2 separate regions of the Homo sapiens genome follow, and region 1 is linked to region 2. The links are contacts of gene promoters, found by promoter capture Hi-C in blood cells and fetal thymus (Javierre and others, 2016). All regions are on one chromosome and are shown on one strand. The core of a region is centred on a gene start or on the middle of the fragment in contact, and the rest is flanking DNA. Distances in the headings are between cores, read along the strand shown.

The links. Contacts are between HindIII fragments. The CHiCAGO score rates a contact against its expected background, and 5 or more counts as called.
Region 1: a fragment that was not itself captured here is called in contact with the fragment with the promoter of ADAMTS6 in region 2 in 1 of 17 cell types (M2 macrophages); the score reaches 5.4 in M2 macrophages.

Annotation. Positions count from the first base shown.
Region 1 is chr5:64,221,690-64,227,682 of GRCh38, reverse strand. The region is part of intron 5 of RNF180 (ring finger protein 180); the gene reads right to left. Among named protein-coding and RNA genes, the nearest start is that of RNF180, 59 kb to the right of the region's middle. The HindIII fragment of the contact is 6,267 bases long and covers 1-5,208 here.
Region 2 is chr5:65,479,398-65,484,870 of GRCh38, reverse strand. It overlaps ADAMTS6 (ADAM metallopeptidase with thrombospondin type 1 motif 6), which reads left to right and starts at 2,951. Exons shown (of 25, transcript NM_197941.4): 1 at 2,951-3,528. It overlaps LOC124900986, which reads left to right. Exons shown (of 2, transcript XM_047417970.1): 2 at 1-530. RefSeq lists enhancers at 2,749-2,798, 2,572-3,071, 2,839-3,198. The HindIII fragment of the contact is 619 bases long and covers 2,524-3,142 here.

The DNA.
Region 1 (5,993 bases), core at 826-3,325, 1.3 Mb after region 2:
CATGTTCTAAAACTGACCTCCAGAAGAACTAGTCTTAGTCATTTCTTTGCAGAGTATGTGAACCAAGATTCGGGTTTGGTCTTTGGTGTTAGCACTGTGTCAAGGATCAGATAGAAAGTACAAATGGAGGGGCCCCTTTCTGAGGCCAGGCCCCACTGTCAGGGCATGTGGGGTGACCAAAGGCCAACAACCAGCTGAGGCTAAGAGGCTGCTCTGAGGAGGGCGGGGCTCCAGGTGCCTCTTGAACCCTTTGTTCGGGACCAGGACATGTGTGGCTGGGCAGCAGCCTTCAGACCCCCCACAGGCTGGTGCCCGGTACCCACAGCCTTCTGTTGGGTTGTCAGGCCCCTGCACCCATGGTGGGGTGCTGGGCTCCAGAGTTCCCTGGGACCAGCTGATCTCGTCCTTGGTTTTGGCCCAAATGCAAGCCCCTGGTCTCCTCCAAGTAACTTCCTTTCCCCAAGGCTGTCCAGGCCCCACCGCTGCCTGTTCCTTCCCAGGGCCTCCTGCAAGTCCCGATGCTGACGCCTCTCTGCCCACCTAGTTTGTGGCCGCTGCCTCCAGCTCTGTGTCTGCCTCCCAGCGAGGGAGCCGTGGTTGACGATCTCGTGAGTGTCTGCCCTTCTGAAGGGTACAGTGTGAAGTCTCGTCAGTCTCATTTAAATGCCTAAGCACCTCTTCAGAAACCAGGGAGTCAGCCGGGTTTCTCCATCTTTAATCATGTTTTCTAAAGGTTTTCTTGGCAATTTCCTGGCAATTTGCAAGACAGGACTTTTTGGTTGCCAACTTCCAATTAGCTTTAAACTTGCCACGATCTCCCAGGTCATCCCATCCATCGATGATGCTTATTACATTCTTCCTGATTTCCATGTGGCCAAATTCAATAGTTATTTACCCCAGGCTTGTATTTTGGAGGCTAAAGAACTCTGTTACCAGCTATATCTGTGCTGTGGCTGCTGTAGCAAAATATCACAAATGTGGCTTAAAACAACAAAAATTTTTTCTTTTTTTTTTTTTAGTATTTATTGATCATTCTTGGGTGTTTCTCAGAGAGGGGGATGTGGCAGGGTCATAGGATAATAATGGAGAGAAGGTCAGCAGATAAACACGTGAACAAAGGTCTCTGGTTTTCCTAGGCAGAGGTCCCTGCGGCCTTCAGCAGTGTTTGTGTCCCTGGGTACTTGAGATTAGGGAGTGGTGATGACTCTTAACGAGCATGCTGCCTTCAAGCATCTGTTTAACAAAGCACATCTTGCACCGCCCTTAATCCATTTAACCCTGAGTTGACACAGCACATGTTTCAGAGAGCATGGGGTTGGGGGTAAGGTTATAGATCAACAGCATCCCAAGGCAGAAGAATTTTTCTTAGTACAGAACAAAATGGAGTCTCCTATGTCTACTTCTTTCTACACAGACACAGTAACAATCTGATCTTTCTTTTCCCCACATTTCCCCCTTTTCTTTTCGACAAAACCGCCATTGTCATCATGGCCCGTTCTCGATGGTCGCTGCCTCTTCGGAGCTGTGGGGTACACCTCCCAGATGGGGCAGCCGGGCAGAGGCACTCCTCACTTCCCAGATGGGGCAGCCAGGCAGAGGCGCTCCTCACTTCCCAGATGGGGCGGCCAGGCAGAGGCGCTCCTCACTTCCCAGACGGGGCGGCCGGGCAGAGGCGCTCCTCACTTCCCAGAAGGGGCGGCCGGGCAGAGGCGCTCCTCACTTCCCAGACGGGGCAGCCGGGCAGAGGCGCTCCTCACTTCCCAGATGGGGTGGCCAGATGGGGTGGCCGGGCAGAGGCACTCCTCACTTCCCAGACGGGGCGGCCGGGCAGAGGCGCTCGCTTCATCCCAGACGGGGCGGCCGGGCAGAGGCACTCCTCACCTCCCAGCCAAAGGGAGGCTGGGCAGAGGTGCTCCTCACATCTCAGACGAAGGGTGGCCAGGCAGAGGCGCTCCTCACTTCCCAGACGGGGCGGCCAGGCAGAGGCGCTCCTCACTTCCCAGACGGGGCAGCCGGGCAGAGGCGCTCCTCACTTCCCAGACGGGGCGGCCGGGCAGAGACGCTCCTCACCTCCCAGACAGGGCGGCTAGGCAGAGGCGCTCACTTCCTCCCAGACGGGGCAGCCAGGCAGAGGCGCTCCTCACCTCCCAGACGAAGGGCGGCCGGGCAGAGGCGCTCCTCACCTCCCAGACGGAGGGCGGCCAGGCAGAGGCACTCCTCACATCCCAGACGATGGCCGGCTGGGCAGAGGCGCTCCTCACATCCCAGACGATGGGCGGCCAGGCAGAGGCGCTCCTCACTTCCCAGACAGGGCGGCCGGGCAGAGGCGCTCCTCACTTCCCAGACGGGGCGGCTGGGCAGAGGCGCTCCACACTTCCCAGACGGGGCGGCCGGGCCAAATGTGCAGATTTAGAATGAAAAAAAGATAGTTTTTCCTATGCGTAAGGCCAAAAGAGCTGAAGCCATCACCTAGTTCTATTCATCAAACACAGCTAGCACTAAGCTCAGACCAAAATGGTTAGTTCCAGTTTTCTGTGTGTGTTACTACTCTGAGACTAGCTGATGATTCTGATTTTTTCCCCTAACAAGCTGGCTTTACATAAAACTTAGCATCTTATTCCTTTTGGGTTGCTAGTAACAGAATGCCCAAGACTGGGTAATTTATTGAGACAAGAAAATGATTTTCTCACAGTTTGGGAGGCCAGCAGCCCAAGGTCAAGGGACCAGCATTTGGTGTGGTGAAGGCCTCCTTGCTGCATCCTCACATGGCAGAAGGTGGAAGGGTAAGAGAGCAAGCTAGCCGAACACTGTATACAGCCTGTTTCAAAAGGGCTTTAATTCCATTAATGAAGAAGGAGTCCTCAGGCCTAATTATCCTTTAAAGGCCCCATCTGTGAATACTATCACATAGGCAACATATGCATTTTGGAGGTGACATGTTCAAACCACAGCACTTGGGAAAGACAGCATGCATCTTTGCTGTTCTCCTACCTCCCAACTGACATTTCCCCCCAGTGCCTGAGGACGTCAGTGCTCTTTTCTCAGACCTTTCCTATACTCCAGTGACCTAGTAGCTCATGTAAATCTGGTAATGCAAGTAAAATACCTCCCACTGTACCTAGCATACAATAAAGCTCATTAAATATTAACCTGCTGTCATCACCTCACCACTACAACTTCTCCCTCCCATTCTCTTTCCCCCTTGCTCGTAATCAAAACTCTCATTCTCTCAATAGCAGGGTAAGAAAAGCTATATAAATGAACTAAACATTACTTGGACATAAATATTTATACCATTTTACTGCCAGGGCCTATATTAGGTGTTGGACAGCATAGGATCAAAATATTTTCTCTCTCCCAGTATGGTTCTTTATCTACCTTTGTTGGCCTGGCAACCACTGAAATCAGCTGTCTTTCCCTCTATAACATCCATCAGAATTTTCTTTGCTGCTGTTAATAAATCCTTTGTCAAGGACTCTATCAACTCAAGTCTAAACCTCTTTAAATTCCTTTTGTTTACCTCTCTTCCTTTCAATAGTTTTTGACCCTGGAATAACTTGAGATATAAATATGTATGTACACACACACACACACACACACACACACACACACACACACACCCCAACCTAGATCAACTGAAGAAAATCTAACAGAGCCAATCATGCTTGCTCCTTTGTGACTACTTTAGAATTCGCAGTTGCATCTCAAGGTCTTGGCCAAAGCAATCCCATATTAAGTAAACTGCTGTCCAAAATTCTCTACAATATGGCATTTCTGCAAATACCCAAGAAAATGATTACTGAAATTCACGTGTCTCCCCCCCTCTACTTCCATTTCCAGGAAGCGATGATATTTCATTCATTGTTGTATCCTCAATACTTGACACAGTTTCTGGCAAAGAGTAAACTACCAAGTGATCATTAGTTACATGAAGGAAAGGATGAATGAAGAATAAAGATATATGATAGTAAAATGTTTTCTGAATCATCAAAAAAAAAGATAAAATATGTGGGAGAAAAACTTTCTTTCTTGAAAGGCTGTGGAATAATGGTTAAGGGCACAAACTTTGGGACACAGGTCTATTATCACATACTAGGTTTGTAGGCCTAGGGAAGTTATTTAACCAGAGACTCAGTTTCTCCATCTATAAAATAGGGATAATAATAGAAATTATCTCTAAAATTGTGTCAAATTAAATGAAATAATGCACTCAGAAAAATAACTGGCATCCAGAAAGGTGAGGCAGGCAGAATAATGACTCCCCAAAGATGTCCAGGTCCTAATCTAAGATCCTGTGAATGTACTACCTTACATGGGAAAGGGGACTTTGCAGCTATGATTAAGTTAAGGACCCTGAGATGGGAAAATTACCTTGGATTATTCAGGTAGACCCAATGTAATCACAAGGGTCCTTAAAGGGTCAGAAAGAAGATGTGATGAAAGAAAATAGGAGTTGTAGTGATGCCATATGGCTGGAAGGGGGCCACAAGCCAAGAAATGAGGGTAGACTCTAGAAGCTGGAAAAAGAAAGGAACAGATTCTATTATAGAGCCTCCAGAAGAAATACTACCCTGTCAACATATTGATATCAGCCCCACAAGGCCCATTTTCAGATTTGTGACCTTCAGAACTATAAGATGATAAAACTGTGTTATTTTAACCAATGTTTATAGTGATTTGTTATAGCAGCAATAGAAAACTAATGTAAGGGATATGTAAGTGTGACAATTATTTTTCCTCTGTTACAAAACATTCTCAAGTTAACATCAACAGTGATAACTCATGTTGATAGTATGTATTCTTCTAATAAAGAATGGCATTTTATCTCTGTAGTCTTCCTCCCCGAAACTCATGTGCAGAGAAGAGATAACATAGCATATTTGTCTTCATTTACAAGGCTGGCCCTTGTGTCATCCAGAAACTTGAATTTTGGGAGAGCTCCCATCATCCTAATTGATAATAGTGACTCACTGTGCCCAAACTACAATGTGATTTATGCTTAACACCTGTTTTCCTTCCAGAAGTTTGGAATTTTGGTATGTGTCAGACAGTGGGTACCTATGTGACCAGCTCCCAATAAAAACCTTAGCTACTGAGTCTATAATGACCTTCCTGGTGCACAGCATTTCACACCTGTTGTCATAACTTACTGTTGAGGGAATTTAGCACATTCTGTGTAACTCCATGGGGCGAGAACTCTTGGAAGCTTGCACCTGGTTTCCTCCAGATTTCACCCCCATGTACCCCCTCCCTTTGCTGATGTTGGTTTATATCCTTTTGTTGTAAGATGAGTTAATGGGTGCAGCACACCAACATGGCACATGTATACATATGTAACTAACGTGCACATTGTGCACATGTACCCTAAAACTTAAAGTATAATTAAAAAAAAACATAGCTGGAAGTATGAATTCATGCTTAGTTCTATGAGTCCTCTTAGTGAATCATCAAATACAGTAGTTTTGGGAACCCATGACACAACCGATAAGCCCAGTCTAATCATGGGGAAAACATCAGACAAATCTCAGTTGAGGGGCCTTTTACAAAATAACTAACCAGTACTCCTCAAAACTGTCAAGGTCATCAAAAACAGAGAAAGTCTGAGAAACTGTCACAGCCAAGAGGAACCTAATGAGACATGACAACTAATTGTAATGTGGTATCCTAGATGAGATTCTGAAACAACAAAAAAAAGACTTATTAGGTAAAAACTAAATAAATCTGAATACAGTATAAATACTATTAATAATGTATTGATATTGGTTCATAAAATGTGACAAATGTATCATACTAATGTAAGATATGAACAATCCAGAAGACTACGTGTGGAGCATTTGGGAACTCCCTGTACTATCTTCAAAGCTTTTCTATAAATCCAAAACTATCCTAAAATAAAAAAGACCCTTTAAAAAATACTTGAGCATCTATTATGTACAAAGTACTGTGCTAAGCATTAGAAAATTAGATCTATATAATTACTTCAGGTAAAGGCA
Region 2 (5,473 bases), core at 1,702-4,201:
ACGAACCCACCAGAAGGCCGAACACATCTGAACATCAGAAGGAACAAACTCCGGACACGCTGCCTTTAAGAACTGTAACACTCACCTGAGAGTCCGCAGCTTCATTCTGGAAGTCAGTGAGACCAAGAACCCACCAAATTCCGGACACAGGAGGATCACTTGAGGCTGAGTTCGTGACCAGCCTGGGCAACAGGGAGACCCTATCTCTACAAAAATAAAAACTTAGCTGGGGATGGTGGTTCATGCCTGTAGTTCCAGCTAAAATATATGTATTTTTTATTAGTCAATTTAAATAAGTAAATAGATAATAAAAATTTTAAAAAGAGACAAGAGAATGGCGGTTACATGGGCCAGTTGACTTGTGAAAATTCATTAGACTGGACACTTGTCATCAAACTATGTAATTATACATTTTTCTGCATGAATATTTTCAATTAAAAGTTTATTAAGAAAAGATGGAGCCATTGCAATGTATGGATCTTGATTCTAATAAAAAGGCATTTTTTAAAGCCCTTTTTGCAATTGGGAAATCTGAGTACAATATTTGATGACATGAGTTATTAATGTTTTAAGAATAATAGTGGTGTATATTTTTTTAGTACTTTTAGAAATACAGGGAAATAATGAAACGATATCTGATGAAATGATAGATGAAACAAAGTTGGTCACACTTGGACACTTGAAACTGGATGATGGCTACATGAGTGTTCATTATACTGTTTTTTTTTTTACTTTTGTATATGTTTGAAATTTTCTGCAATGCAGTTAAAACATTTACACAAACACATATATATACACATATATAAAGTTAAATTGACAGTTCGCCATTTCCCACCCTAATCAATTTTCACCAATTATTCACAGTATTCTTGACCCAATCAACTTGGAGACAGAATCTGTTGGAAAAATTTCATTACTCTGTTTAGACACAGGATGGCACTCTTTGAATAAGTAATTAGCCAAAGTCCACTCCCACTAAGTAAGCTCCTCTACAAGCTGCTACTTTGTAGGGCAGTTTATCTTAGTTGAGGGTAAAATCTTTTCAGAGCTTATATAGATGTTTACTGCTCATACCTTTATTTTTTGTGTGTGTGCTGGCTGTCCCTATTTACTGCCAGTACTTGAAAAATTAAGGAAGGTTAAGGTTCAACACTATTTAAATAGTCATTTGATGCCTACTTTTCTTATTTTTGGTGTTTACAATTATTGCTATATTTTGCTACCTCATGTATTTCACATATATGTACACACATATATATACACATACAAATACGCACACATACATACATACATATGAATCATCTTTATTTAAAACTCAATGCCCACTATTGAACAGATTTCTACATTTTAAATGGCTTTTAGCCAGATACTACTGATTAAGGTCAGGATGAGGACTATTTACTCTGTGGACAGATGCTTTCCACTTTCAACCCTTGAAGAAGAATTGAAATAACTGTATTCTTGGACGTTCTCAGTCTGATTCATGCCTCCTTTTAGCCAACTATTCATAGATTCACCAGAAGAATTACACCTACTACCTCCGGCGTAGGAAGAAAAAAAAAAATCAAATGGGCAATAATGTTAGCAGAAGCTTGATATTTAAGAGCTGGTATTCAGAAAGATCATCCTTCCTACCCCCTTCCCTCCGGTCCAGTTCTCCTTTCTGGTTCTCACCATCGGAAATTGACTTGGCATTAACTAAGGGCTGGAATTTCAAGGCGTCAATTTTCCCCTGCCCCCAACCTCGGAAACTCTTAAACAGCTCCCTATTCTACACTCAATGGTAGAGACAGATAAATGATGCAGCAGATTACACCGTTGAAAGGCAACATTTGTCCTGAGCTATTTTCACATTTTTTCCTGTTTCCGATGTATGTGCCAGACTTTGTTTGCTTGCTTAGGACATGGAAAACACTGGGCATTTTCTCCCCAGCGGCTTTCATTCTCAGCAAATGAAAGTGAAAGTGCTACATTGTAGCGGTATTTTATCCTTAAAGTCTGGACTGGCAGCTTGTGTGTAGGGGGGAGGGAGGGTGGGATTGGGAAGGTTGAAGAACCAGTTTTGAGGTTTTGTTTGTTTATCTTGAGATCGCAGCAGGGTTCCTGTTTTTTTCCCTTCCTTTTTTTTTTTGGTGGTGGGGTCCTACTTCGGATTTATTTTCATTTGGGCAGTCATTGAAGTTTCATTCAATGGACTGACTTAAAAAAATACACTCCACTTGTGGCTTTTCCCGGTTGCACTTTAAAACACCATCCAGTCTCACCCTCATCTGGAAATAATGCAAGCTTCTCTCTTCCTTCCCCCGCTCCCTCCTCCCCTACTTTTTTTTTTTCTTCTTCTTCTTCTTTTAAAGCTCCACATAACCTGAAGTCGATAATCAAATGGAAAATGTGCTGGTATTAGTTTACTTTAGTTTACTTTCCCTTTTGGTGCTAACCTTACTTGCTGAAGTATGTATAAAACACAGGCATTTTGTACACTTGTAGCTACTGAGTCTTGTGCCTGCTGCACGAATCTAAGCTTTAAGTTTCCTCAGAGGCACTGTTTGCGTGCAAGTTTTAACATTTTGATTGTGTGGATTTTAAAAATAAAATTACACGGAGAATGACACCAGAGATCTTAACAGTGACATTAGTCCATCTAAAGTCATTCATCCTTCTCCCTCCCCCTTCATTTTTCCAAGAAACAACTAATAGCAAACCAGGCTAGAATTTCTAAGAGAGTTTAGAGGAGGAGGAGGAAAAGAGGCGGAATGAGATAGGACAGAGAGGTTAGAGAGGCCAGAATTTCTCTCATTCACAGTGTGGAAAAGTTGACATTGTCTAAGCCCTTCTGAATGGCTGGTAGTTGGTTACCCCGATTGTACCTCTACCTCCCCTCCCCCTCCACGTGACGACCCAGGACACATGCGCACCCGACGCAGCCCAGGCACATCTGCAGACTGACGTCAGTGTGCTCTGCCTCCGAGGAAAAGCTGCCAAAATTTTCTCCTGCTGCAATTCAAGTTGGCTGGGGGCCGGTAGTGAGATCTAGGGCTACTTCAACAAAACTTTGCTGCCCTTCCTGCTCCTCTTGTCTTCTTTTCTCCTGATACCTTTTGATGCTCTGCACATGTTATTTGCATAGCAAAGGCACTAAGCTTTCCAGGAAGAGAGGGCACCACTTCCACCCCCAATAAGTCTTTTTTCCCGTCTTTTCTTTCTTTTCCTTTCCTTTTTTGGGGGGTGGGGAGGGAGAGAAAGGGGGTTTGCAAAGGCAGCATCTCAGAGTGATAGCCTAGATGTATTGAAGGCATCTCTTATTCTGCCAAATCGGAAAGTCAGTTCTCTAAAGCCCGGGTTAGCCAGACCATAGGGTTTTATTCTGGCTGCAGAATAACTGGCTGGTGTGGCTTTGCAAAGGGGGGCAAAAAATAAAAAAATAAAAAAAATTAAAAAAAGTTAGAGAGGAGAGGGAGTACGTGAGTCGTCCAGTGCAATCTCTATTGTCTGAAACTTACTTTTTATCAGAATTTGAAGATGAAAACGGTAAGGAAGACTTAACAATATTCAATGGAGCTTTTTTTTTTTAAACCAACAACTTGTGCTTTGCTTGTCTTCCGAATAACGCTTAGAAAACTTTTTTTCTGTGTGTGTGTTTTTTTTTTTTTTTTTAATGGCAATGAGTGAGCTTGACTGAACTCATTTTACAAATAGATATCTTTTTAACTCCAGACTTGTCGGGGGTTGTAGAATTCTGGGACTTGCAGTTATTTTATGATGCAAAAAAAATACGTTTATTTTATGAATATACAATACATGTTTTGTGAAGTGGACTTGATTATGATTATTGTAATCTTTTAACTGATCACCAAATAGTAATCCGGAAGGTAATAATGATGTGTGTGTTTTAAATTGATTTCCAGTTTTCTTACAGAAAAGTCTTATGCATTTTGTAGTTTCATGTCAGTGTCGTTAAGTCTTCAGACAAGTGCATATTTTATGCCTGGGCTCAGAGGGTAGCATTAATGTGCTAGCTGTAGCCCCGATGCTCTAGGACATGTTAAGCTCTTAATAGGCTAATCAAAGAGATGGAAACGTGTGTTTTTGATTTACTTTTGGCCACTTGGGACGTGCTAGACTCATAACCCTCCGGAGCCTTGTTTATCGGGGTAGGTCTGTATATATGGTGTATGGGACCAAAGTTCAGGGATTGAGGAGGGAGAGTGAGAGTGCAGGAATGGGGTATTGGGAAGCCTCTTTCTGATAATATGTGCTACAATTCCTGTCTTTGATGCTTTCTTTCCCTGTACTAGAGGAAAAGTGAGCGAGAGATTGAGAAAGCGCACTGAGAGGGAACAAGAGAGTGAGTTTCTTACTCTTGTTTTTATTTGAGCTGCCGGTGCAACGCGTTTGGGCCAGATGCCAACTGTCTGGGTCACACGCGTTTTATCCAAATAGATTTAGCGCTGCTGTCTGGAAATGGGCTGCTGAATGTTAACTTTAGGATCAACTCAACCAGGGCAGCTCAGACTGTTACCCTCTGTCTGGGCGAAGTGGAATGGTGGGGGCGGGGGGAGGTGAGGGTGTGCAGAGCAGAGAGAAAAAGGGAAACTGAACCATTGCTTGGAACTTTAAAAGAGACACTTGAGTGTGATTTTCAACATGTTCTTTTTATGTTCAAGTGTCGTGGACTAATTTTCTGTTCTTTTTTCTTTCTTTTTAGTTTCTGTTGATTAGACTGAAATGTTTAGATGTGGGGATGACAGTTTTCAGAATTCATGACAGGAAAAGAAACGTAACACAAAATTGGTGTAGTTGAAAGAAATTAAGAAAATTAATTTTGGAGATAATTGTTTTCTTGTGTTGCAGCAAAGTGGTAACTGCAGTCTGGTTTATGTTAATTCTGTGCTTAAATGTGATCGTTAGTGTTTTGAATTTTTGAAGAATAGCATTTAGAGGCAAATACGTTGATTTCAAACAAATCAAATTCATTCATTTGCCACAGCTGCAAATGAAGTCTGTGTAGTGGTCTTAATATTTTTGTGATTCCCAAGAAGAAAAACTTCTAGCCTGAAGACTGAAAATACTGTAATACTCCTTATGTCTGGTCCCAATACCTGTAAGATTAATTCCTACTCTTGTCTACTCTTAGCACTTCCTCTTTCTTTCCTTAGTAATCACTAGTAGTAGTAACTAGGATGGGTCTTTATGCCAAATTTTATCAAGTTTGTGACTTTAGTGAGTGAATGAAGGGAGTTACCATATTAAGAGATAGTTAACAGCATATTTGGAATATGTGTTGGGGGTAGTGGGGAGAAAAAGAGGGGAAGAGGTGGATAGCTCTCTTGCTTCTGCCAAAAAACATGGTTGATTATCAAGCTAAGCTCAAGAGAAAAAATTTATAATACAGAAAATGTGTATTTACTTGCTATCTGGAAAAAAGTGTGAGACTACATGTAATTTAGGGCTTGAGTTTTATAAATCATGGTTT